Regions from separate parts of the Homo sapiens genome. Here region 1 is linked to region 2. Evidence: promoter capture Hi-C in 16 types of primary human blood cells and fetal thymus (Javierre and others, 2016). All regions are on one chromosome and are shown on one strand. The core of a region is centred on a gene start or on the middle of the fragment in contact, and the rest is flanking DNA. Distances in the headings are between cores, read along the strand shown.

What was found. Contacts are between HindIII fragments. The CHiCAGO score rates a contact against its expected background, and 5 or more counts as called.
Region 1: a fragment that was not itself captured here is called in contact with the fragment with the promoter of HEPN1 in region 2 in 1 of 17 cell types (naive CD4 T cells); the score reaches 6.0 in naive CD4 T cells.

Annotation. Positions count from the first base shown.
Region 1 is chr11:125,142,568-125,147,901 of GRCh38, reverse strand. No RefSeq gene overlaps it. Among named protein-coding and RNA genes, the nearest start is that of PKNOX2-DT, 19 kb to the left of the region's middle. The HindIII fragment of the contact is 5,881 bases long and covers 1-5,334 here.
Region 2 is chr11:124,914,654-124,920,499 of GRCh38, reverse strand. It overlaps HEPN1 (hepatocellular carcinoma, down-regulated 1), which reads right to left and starts at 1,250. Exons shown (of 1, transcript NM_001037558.4): 1 at 1-1,250. The coding sequence starts at 749. The coding sequence ends at 483. HEPACAM (hepatic and glial cell adhesion molecule) reads left to right here. Exons shown (of 7, transcript NM_152722.5): 7 at 1-1,295. All of the region lies in intron 1 of LOC107984406 (a long non-coding RNA gene), which reads right to left. The HindIII fragment of the contact is 3,231 bases long and covers 1-1,723 here.

The sequences.
Region 1 (5,334 bases), core at 1,609-4,108, 230 kb before region 2:
CCAAGTCCTGAGCCTTGTGTTCTCAGCACCAGAAGACAAAAGCTGTGATGACCCTGTTTGATTAGAGAAACTTGTGCCTTTAAGTTTCCACCCATAAATCATGGATGCCAGCCTGGGTGTTCACCACCATCAGATAATAATAGCAACATATATTAATACATAGCATTTCCTTTATGCCAGAGCCCTTCCAAGTCCTTTGCATGCATTAACTCTCATCACTATCACAGCAACCCTAGGAAATAGGTACTGTTGTCATCTCCATTTTACTGATGGGAGAATCAAGGTACAAGGAAGGTGAGTTAACCCATCTAAGGTCGCACAGTAAGTGGAGGGCCGGCTTTGAATGCAGGCAAGCTGGCTCCAGAGTCTGTGCTGAAGTCACCTCTACATTATACGGTCTGAGCAGCAGCATGCTGCCAAGGGAGTTGGAGTCATTCCTGGATATAGATGTAACCTGGAACCCGTAAGCATTTCATCACCTCTTCACCCTTAAAGACTCTTCCCACCCTGTCCTGCAGCAGCCCAGGAGACTATGATTTCTGCGCTCGAACTGAGGGTGCAAGGGGAGAGGTGAGTGTGACTTTGGCTCTCCCAAACACCAGCATGGCTCATTTTTTTAGGTGGATGCCAGTGTATCCTTATCCATCTCCAAGTTTCTGCACGCCATGCCATCCTGCCTGGCAGGGGAGGGAGGGGGTATAAGGAAAGTCACCTTTCCCTGGGACCACAAGGTCCTGTTTCTTGTGCCATAGCACTGCAATCACCAGGCAAGGCTGTTTCCCGTAAAGATCAATCAATGCTGCCCCCATCCCACGTTCCCACCCTTTCCTGCTCCTCGGCCTACAACTGCTATCGATTACAGCAGAGCAGGGAAGCAAATGCCAAAATATATCAATCAATCACCAAAGTGGTCAAGAGACTTTATTAAAACCACTATGCCTTCTTCTATTTTCCTGCCCCCCGCCCCAGCTTCCTCGGCCCAGTGGCCATTTCTTTTGGAAGGTTTCCAAGAACTTTGCAGACATGATCTGATGGCTGGTGGAATTTCCTCTATTTGGGGAAAATTTAGACCCAGAGAAGGAGCAAGAACAAGTCCCATAGTGAGAAGATGGAAACCAGGTGTGTGAAAATACGTGCAAGTGTCTGTGCAGTACATATATGAAAATGTGCAAGTATGTGTGTTTGTTTAAAGAAAAACCTAGAACTTAGTCACATTTCAGAAACATTTGGTAATTATCGCTGAAGTTTTTACAAATCAATTCCTTCTGGTCGCTTAATGTCCTTCACTAAGTGGTTTAGTTGTGAAATTTCACTTTATAATTGGGTTCATTTTAATGCAGAAAGAGGTAGATTTGCATAAGCAAATGACAAACAGTTAACAAAACCCATTAGCAGAGAGGCAGGACTCTAAAGAGCCACACACCTGGGTAGTCAGCTCAGAATCAAAGCCTGTGGCAAGGAAATCCCTGACCTCACCCAGACCAAATTCCAGGCCTCTAATGAGAGGGGAAGGAGGACACACATTTCAAGTGCCTTAACAGATTGCTTAGTCCTAGCAGACTAAGTTGCTAGGATGAGAGGAGACCCTCAGAGAGACAGTTTCATTTGCTTGTCAATGAAAAACCAAAGACTTTTCTTTCTTTTTTCTTTTTCTTTTTCTTTTCTTTTTTTTTTTTTTTTTTTTTTTTTTTTTTTTGAGATGGAGTCTCACTCTGTCACCCAGGCTGGAGTGCAATGGCGCGATCTTGGCTCACTGCAACCTCTGCCTCCCGGGTTCAAGTGATTCTTCTGCCTCAGCCTCCCCAGTAGCTGGAATTACAGGTGCCCGCCACCACGCCCAGCAAATTTTTGTGTTTTTAGTAGAGACGGGGTTTCACCATGTTGGCCAGGCTGGTCTCGAACTCCTGACCTCAGTGATCCTCCCACCTCGGCCTCCCAAAGTGCTGGGATTACAGGCATGAGCCACTACCCCCAGCCCAAAGACTTTTTTGTCTAAGGAAAGTCTGGACAAGGATTTTTTTTTAACCGGCAGTTTTATACAGCTATCTGACAACTCTTGGTCCAGATGAAAAAAGCATGGACTCAGAGTAGCGGGGGAGACAGAGAATCTGACTGCCAACTCTCATTCTGCCACGAACTAGCAAGGATCCTCATGCCTCAGTTTCCTCTTCTGTAAAAAGACAACCTAAAACTAGATTATGAGTTCTTATGTTTCCCAAACTCCTGCTGTCATCACAAGTAATTGACTCATTCATTCATTCACCCAACAGATATTTATTGCACCCTTGCTATGAGCAGGTTCTGTAGAAATTAGAGAATCATGAGGAGACAGGGTGAGGCCTCAGTGCTGGGGAACACATAGCCATAGACAAGGCCCTACCCTCGTGGAATTTATCTTCTAATGGGGTGTTATGGATTGAATTGCACCCCCCACCAAATTCATATGTTGAAACCTTAACCACTAATGTGACTGTATTTAGAGATAAGTCTTCTTTTTTTTTTTTTTTTTTTTTAAGATGGAGTTTCACTCTTGTTGCCCAGGCTGGAGTGCAATGGCGTGATCTCGGCCCACTGCAACCTCCACCTCCCTGGTTCAAGTGACTCTCCTGTCTCAGCCTCCCGAGTAGTTGGGATTACAGGCACCCGCCACCACACCCGGCTAATTTTGTGTTTTTAGTAGAGACGGGGTTTCACCAGGTTGGCCAGCCTGGTCTCAAACTCCTGACCTCAAGTGATCTGCCTGCCTCAGCCTCCCAAAGTGCTAGGATTACAGGTGTGAGCCACCGTGTCCTGCAGAGATAGGGTCTTTAAGGAAGTAATTAAGGTTAAAGTTACAAGGGTGGGGGTCTAATCCAATAGGACTGGTGTCCTTATAAAAAGAGAAAAAAACAGAGATTCCCTCCTCCTCATTCTGCCAACCTGTGCACAAAGAGGTCATGGGAGGGCATAGGGAGAAGGCAGCCACCTACAAGCCAAACAGAGAGGCTTCCCCGGAAACCAACCTTGCTAACACGTTGATCTTGAACATCCAGCCTCCAGAACTGTAAGAAAATAAATGTCTGTTGTTTAAGCCCCGCAGTCTGTGGCATTTTGCTACATAGCTGGAGCTGACAGATACAAGGGTAAGCAGGGAAGGGCACAGTGTTATGGGAGCGCAGATTAGGGCCGCCCCACCCAGGCTACAGGGGGATGGAAGGTTTTCCAGAGAACCTGCCATCCAAATATAGACCTGAAGGGAGGATTAACAGGTGCAAACAGGAGAGAGTACTCAGGGCAGGACGCCCACATGTGTGAAGACCCTGAGGGAAGAGGAGCAAGTTCTGTCAGAGGACCTGAACACGTTTCTTTATGGATGGAGCCTGGAGGGTGAGATGAAGAGGGGGTGGAATGAGGCTGAGGAGGTCGGGGGAGCCAGCGTGGCTGACATTTCATAAGCAAACACGCTGAAGATCCCAGAGAACAAGCTGCTCCACTTTTCGACACTTCGGACTCACCCCATTGATGCTTCTGATTCTGCTGGAAAAAATGCCAACTTGGGCTCTGCAGGTTCCAAGAAGTCGTGAGCTTTTCCCTGCCACCTGATTGGCTGCATCATTCCTCAGCATCACTGCGTGTGTTCCTTGTGGAAATGCTTCGCTTGTTCATCCATAAGCTCCCTCCTTACCTTTCAAAGCCTCTTCTGGGACTGCCTCTTCTGGTGCTTGCCTTCAGTTCTATAAAATTCCTTTGCTTTTCATTAATAATTGCTAGTGTTTATTGCGTTAGTTAATACTAACCATGTCCCAGGTGTTGTTTTAGGGGCTTTATGTGTATTAGCTCTTTTAATCCTCACGACAACACTATGAAGTAGATTCTATTAATTCTAGTTTATGGATGAGGAAACTGAAGCACAGAGAGATTAAATAGTCACTTGTCCAGGGCCGCTTGGCTAACAAATGGAGGAGGCAGGATTAAAACCCAGGCAGTTGGCTGGGGGCAGTGGTGCACGCCTGTGATCCCAGCACTTTGGGAGGCCGAGACTGCCTGATCTCAGAAGTTCGAGACCATCCTGGGCAACGTGGTGAAACCTCATCTCTACCAAAATACAAAAAATTAGCCAGGCGTGGTGGTGGGTGCCTGTAGTCTCAGCTACTTGGGAGGCTGAGGCAGGAGAATCGCTTGAACCTAGAAGGTGGAGGTTACAGTGAGCCAAGATTTCACCACAGCACTCCAGCCTAGGTGACAGAGGGAGGCCCTGTCTCAAAAAAAAAAAAAAAAAAAAAAACCCGGGCAGTCTAGCTTGGGTGTCTATGCTCTTAACCACTACGCTGTGCTGTCCAAAAAAAAAAAAAAAAAGATGGAAACTGAGGCTTGGCTAGGTTCTCCTGGCTAGGTGAAGCATGGGTGCCAGGACTAGAACTGAGGTCTTCCTGATCCCATGTTCTCTGCTGTTCACACTTAGCGGGGCTGCCTCTTGAGGGAAAGGAGGAGAAGCAGATGAGTTTGAGGACCACTCAGGAGGTAGACAAGCTAGGACTATCATGAGGGTAATCAAAGAATAAGGGATACAATAGGAAGCCAAGGGCAAAGCCAGGTTTCTAGGTCAACTGTGCAGCCAAACCTTCATCATCTTCTGCCACTTTATTTTATTTATTTATTTATTTATTTTGAGATGGAGTCTCGCTCTGTCACCCAGGCTGGAGTGCAGTGGTGCAATCTCGGCTTACTGCAACCTCAGCCTCCCAGGTTCAAGCAATTCTCCTGCCTCAGCCTCCTGAGTAGCTGGGACTACAGGTGCGTGCCACCACGCCCAGCTAATTTTTATGTTTTTAGTAGAGACGAGGTTTCACCATGTTAGCCAGGATGTTCTCGAGCTCCTGACCTCGTGATCCACCCGCCTCGGCCTCCCAACGTGCTGGGATTACAGGCGTGAGCCACCGCGCCCGGCCTGCCACTTTATTCTTTATTCATTCATTCTTTCGTTCATTTGACACATACTGTGTTTCAGGTGCTGGCTGGGAAAAGCAGGAATTGGGGAGCGGGTAGACACTGAGACTGGCCATGACACTCACCAGGCCTTACTCCTTCCCCTTGTCCATGGAGCTCAAGGACTTTGCATTCTAGGGGATGGGGTTGATAAATAAATTATTACAACGTGATTATAAGTATATCAATATATCTACATCTATCTGTCTACCTATCTACCTACCATCTACCTACCTATAAAAGGAGTACAAGGAAGACAGCCCATCTCTGACTAAAGAAGTCAGGGGGAGCCTCAATCTAGAGAGGGTACCACTGGAGCCAGTGCTGAAGGTTATGATGGGAATATCCTAGGAGAGTATCGGGGATCCT
Region 2 (5,846 bases), core at 1-2,500:
GAGTACATTCCTTTTCCCTCTGACCTGGGCGCTAGCAAGGGCAAAGAACCCGAGCCTGCCAGCTTGGCCTCCTCCCACAGCCTCCCTCGGAGGCATGCCATGCCAAGCACTCTTTCTGTCTCTGTTCATGAATAAAAGAGATGGATGGGCTTATTCTTATAGAGAAGTGAATTTCACTTACTCCCCTGGCCCGAAAACTAGACCAAATGAGGAACTGTTTTAGCTCATCAAACTCATATATTCCTCCTGGCTTCCTTACAAAACAAGCCTTTCAAACAATCATTGTCCTCAGGAAAGTTGTTGAGCTTCCTCCAGCTGTGAGAATAAGTCCTAATCTCCAGAGAAATGGTGGGGGGAGGAGGAGGCTTATTGCTTCCCAGCATTTGGGGGGAACATGATCCAACCCCTGGCCTCCTGCCACCCATCTGCCCTGCTCCCACATGCTCAGGTCCCAGGGCACAGAAAAAGGGCAGACTCCCTAATCACACTAACATCAAAATAAAGAGGCTGGGCCGCTGTGTAGCCAGGACATGCCCATGCCACCGCCTATTGAACAGTTCATAGGAGTGGCAGTAATCTACTGTGTGAGGAGAGAGGGCAATTAAAAAGCTGAAAGAGAAGGAGGCCCTCTGTGTATTCCATTCCCTCCTCCTTAATGCCTCCAAGGGTCCTTGCATCCCTAGTCTCCTAAACTCCAGCTCTGATTCGCCATCAACCCATGGAGCAATTCCAAGGCCCCAGTTACCCATCACCTCCACACCAGGTCAAGTTTTGTCTCAGCCCCAAAGGCACTGACATTTCTAGTTTGCCCCCTCTGCCCTGAACCCCACAGCATGCCTGTCTCAGCTCCCTGTCCCTCGGCACTTCCCCAGGCTCATTTGAGCAGGTGTGCCTTCGCAGCTCCCCTAAACTTCCCAGGTGCCTCATCCATAATGAGATAATGCATGTAGGGGAAAAGTTTCTCAAGAAGGTGGAAGAGGCAGCAGGACTTGGATAAGGAGTACCTGCTGGTCAGCCTTGAGATGCACAGGTGAAGGTTAGGGTGAGATGAGAACATGCCATACCCTGGTGCTGAATCCCTGAGGGGCCAGCTTGCCAGGCTTAAGCCAAATCTGCCTTAAATTGGGGGTGGGGAGGGGTAAGTAAGGAAGTGGGGTTTGTTTTTGTGTTGTTTTCATCTTCATCTTTGTATTACTAGCATCCAGCAGAGTGCCTAGCACATACTGGATGCTCAATAAACTTTTGATGAAATGAAATGACAACTTTATTCCACATAAACAAGGGTAACAAAACAAGCTGCTTAAATATACCAGTCATTTCTCTTCTTCTCCTTTCACCTCCTTTACCCTCTTTCCAAACCCCAAATTGTCCGTTCCAAAATCACTTACCCGTTCATTCATTTACTTATTCAGGTGTTCTTTTATTTATTCGACAAACATTTGTTTACCTACCATGGACTAGGCCCTGTGCTAGACACTGCTGATACAGCATAACTATGTCAGGAAGACAGATCAGTAAACAGATTACAATATAGTGTGTAAAATGCAATGGCAGAAGTAGATACAAGGTGCTCTGGGAGCATGTAGATTAGATGTCAGCAAAGGCATCTTGGAGGAGAACAGACCTGAGTTGAGTCTTTCTTAGAAAGACTTGTTAGTTAATCTGGTTTTTAAAAGTATGAGAGGACACACTCCAAGCAGAGGGAGAAGCATGTATAAAAGCTTGGAAGTGCAAGACACGATGGGGGGGAATTCAGGGTACTGAGCCTAGCAGTTGATGAAATTATTTCAGGAAAGTATACAAAGTAGAAGGTGAAGAAAGCTGCAGATAGATTTCTGAGGCATCAGTATGTGTAGAAAATTTAAAAGGACTTCACCAAGAAGGCTTAAAAGGCACAGCCAGCAAGATAGGAGAATATATAGGAGATAACTATATCACACAATCAAAAGAACAAGAGAGTTTCAAGAAAAAGGGAGCATTCGGGACTACAAGGGCAGGGGGCTCACATATGAAATGAAGTTAAAAGTGCATGTTAAATTTGGCAACAATGAAAACATTGAGTGACTTGGCATAAGTAGTTTCAGACATGTAGTAGGGGTTAAAGCCAGATTGCAACAGGTAAAAAGTGATATGTGGAACTTCTCTGCTAAATACTTGAGACTAGATGTTTGAGAGGTCTTCCTGTTTCAAAACAACTAGGTCTTGCTTAAATGATATTTGTTTTGCATTGCTGGCTTCAAGAGATGGGGGAATTTTTTTTTTTTTTTCAGACAGAGTCTCATTCTTGTCACCCAGGCTGGAGTGCAATGGCGCAGTCTAGGCTCACTACAACCTCTGCCTCCTGGGTTCAAGTGATTCTCCTGCCTCAGCCTCCCGAGTAGCTGGGACTACAAGCACGTGCCACCATGTCCAGCTAATTTTTGTATTTTTGGTAGAGACAGGGTTTCACTATGTTGGCCAGGCTGATCTCAAACTCCTGACCTCATGATCCGCCCACCTTGGCCTCCCAAAGTGCTGGGATTACAGGCATGAGCCACTTCCCTGCCAGAGATGGGGGAAATTTTTAAGCAGTCAGAAGTAAAACAAAATTTAAAAGCACAGTGAGCTCAAAGTACTTAGCACTCATTAAATATGAGATTACCAAGGGAGGTGAAGCAAGATGGCTGAATAGAAGCCTTCACTGATTGTCTTCCTGCAAAAACACCAGATTGAACAACTGTCCACACAAAAAAAGCACCCTCATAACAACCAAACATCCAATGAGTGATCACAATACCTGGTTTTAACTTCATATCACTGAAAGAGGCACTGAAGAAGGTAAGAAAGACAGTCTTGAATTGCTGACACCACCCCTCCCTCATCACCCGGCAGCTGCCGCATGGAACAGAGAGAGAATCTCTGCACTTGCGGGAGGGAGAGTGCAGTCATTGTGGGGCTTTGCATTGGAACGCAGTGCTGCCCTGTCACAGGGAGAAACAACACCAGGCAGAACTCAGCCAGCACCCACAGAAGGAGCATTTAGACCAGCCCTCGCCAGAGAGGAATTACACATCCCAGTGGTTGGAACCTGAATTCCAAAAAGACTCACGACCATGGGTTAAAGTGCTCTGGGGTCCTAAATAAACTTTTAAAAGTCTGTCTAGGACACAAGGACTGCAATTCTAGGGGGGATTCCTGATGCTGTGCTGGGCTTGAAGCCAGTGGACTTGAGCATATGATCTAGTGAGACACCAGCTGGTGCAGCCAAGGGAGTGCTTGCATCATCCCTCTGCCAACACCAGGCATCACAGCTTGCAGCTTTGAAAAAGACTCCTTTCTGTGGTTGGAGGAGAGGAGCAGGAAGAGTAAACAGGACTGTGTATTGCAACTTGGATATCAGCTCAGCCACAGTAGGACAGGGCATAAGACAAGCTCAGCCACAGTAGGATAGGGCATAAGACAGAGTCCTGAGTCCCCCATTTCAGGCCCTAGCTCCCAGACAACATTTCTAGACACCCTGGGCCAGAAGGGAACCCATTGGTTTGAAGGGAATGACCCAGTCCTGGCAGCATTCATCACCTGCTCTCTCTAGAGCCCAAGGGCCCTCAATAATTTGCAATAGAACCCAAGCAGTACTTGCCATTGGCCTTGGGTGAGACTAAGAGACATGTTGGCTTCAGATGTCACCAAGCACCTTTCCAGCTGTGGTGGCTATGGGAAGGGGCTCCTTCTGCTTGAGAAAAGTTGAAGGAAGGATAAAGGGGACTTTGTCTTGCAGCTTAGGTACCGGTGTGGCCTCAGTGCGGTAGAGAACCAAGTGGGCTCTTGGGGTCCCCAATTCCAGGGTTTAGCTCTTGTATGGCATTTCTGGACCTGCCCTAGTGGCCATAGTGGAGCCCACTGCCTAGAAAGGAGAGTCCTATGCTTAGCAGCATTCATAAGCTGACTCAAGAGCCCTTGATCCATGAATGAACATCAGCAGTAGCCAGGCAGTATTGACCATGGGCCTGGGGCAGTGGTGACCAAGGGAAGAGACACCTCTGCTTGAGGAAAGGAGAGGGAAGAGTGGGAAAGACATTGCCTTGGGCTTGGGTGCCAGCTCAGCTGGAGTAAAATAGAGCACCAGGTAGATTCCTAAAGTTTCTTACCCCAGGCCCTGGCTCCCAGGTGACATCTCTGGACCTGCCCAGGACTGGTGGAAACTTGGCACCCTGAAGTAATGGATACAAGCCTGGCTGGCATTGCCACCTGCTGACTCTAGAGCCTTAGGGCCTTGAGCGAACATAGCTGGTAGCCAGACAGTGGTTACCACAGGCCTTTGGTGACACCTGGTGCTGTGCTGGCTTCAGGTCTGACGCAGCACAGTCTCAGTGATGGTGGCCACAGGGATACTTGTGTCACCCTTCTTCCAGCTCCAGGCAGCTCAGCACAAACAGAGAGAGAAGGAGAGAGAGAGAGAAAGGGAGAGAGAAGAGGAGAGGAGAGGAGAGGAGAGGAGAGAGAGACTGCTTGTTTTGGAGAAAGAAAAGGAAGAGAATAAGAGTCTATGTCTGATAATCCAGAGGATTCTTCTAGATCTTATCTAAGACCATAGGGTGGTATCTCTTCAAGTCTGCAGGAGCCACAGTGTTACTGGACTTGGGGTGCCCCCTAATGCAGATACAGCTGCAGTCACCAAAAACTAAATCACAACACCCAAGTTCCTTTGAATACCTAGAAAGCCTTCCCAGGAAGGAAGGGTGCAAACAAACCCAGACTCCAATGAACATCCACAAGCATCAAGACCATTCAGGAAATATGACCTCACCAAATGAACTAAATAAGTCACCGGTGACTAATCCCAGAGAGACACAGATGTGTGACCTTTCAGACAGATAATTCAAAATGGCTGTTTTGAGGAAACTCAAAGAAATTCAAGAGAACACAGAGAGGAATTCAGAATCCTATCAGATAAATTTAACAAAGAGATTGAAATAATTTAAAAGAATCCAGTAGAAATTCTGGAGTTAAAAACTGCAAGTGAAATACTGAAGAACACATCAGAATCTGTTAATAGTGGAATTAATCAAGCAGAAGAAAGAATTAGTGAGTTTGAAGACAGGCTATTTGAAAATACACAGTTATAGGAGACAAAAGGAAGAAGAATAGAAGAGAATGAAAGTATGCCTACGATATCAAGAAAATAACTTCAAAAGGGCAAATCTAAGAGTTTTGGGCCTTCAAGAGAAAATCGAGAGATGAGGGTAGAAAGTTTATTCAAAGGGATAATAACAGAAAACTTCCCAAACCAAGAGAAAGATATCAATATTCAAGTGCAAGAAGGTTACTGAGCAGATTTGACCCAAATAACATTAACTCAAGACATTCAATAATCAAACTCCCAAAGGTCAATAATAAAGAAAGGATTCTAAAAGTAGGAAGAGAAAAGAAACAAATAACATATAGTGGAGCTTCAATATGCCTAGCAGCAGACTTCTCAGTGGAAGCCTTGCAGGCCAGGAAAGAGTGACATAATATATTGAAAGTGCCAAAGGAAAAAGAACTTTTATTGCAGAATAGTATGTCTGGTGAAAATATTATTCAAACATGAAGGAGAATTCAAGACTTTCCCAGACAAACAAAAGCTGAGAGATTTCATCAACACCAGACCTATCCTATGAGAAAGCTAAAGGGAGTTCTTTAATCTGAAAGAAAAGCACCTTAATAAAAAATAAGAAATTATCCGAAGGCACAAAACTCACTAGTAATAGTAAGTACACAAAAAGACAGAATATCAAAACACTGTAATTGTGGTGTGTAAGCTACTCATATCTTGAGTGGGAAGACTAAAAGATGAACTGATCAAAAATAATAATTACAACTTTTCA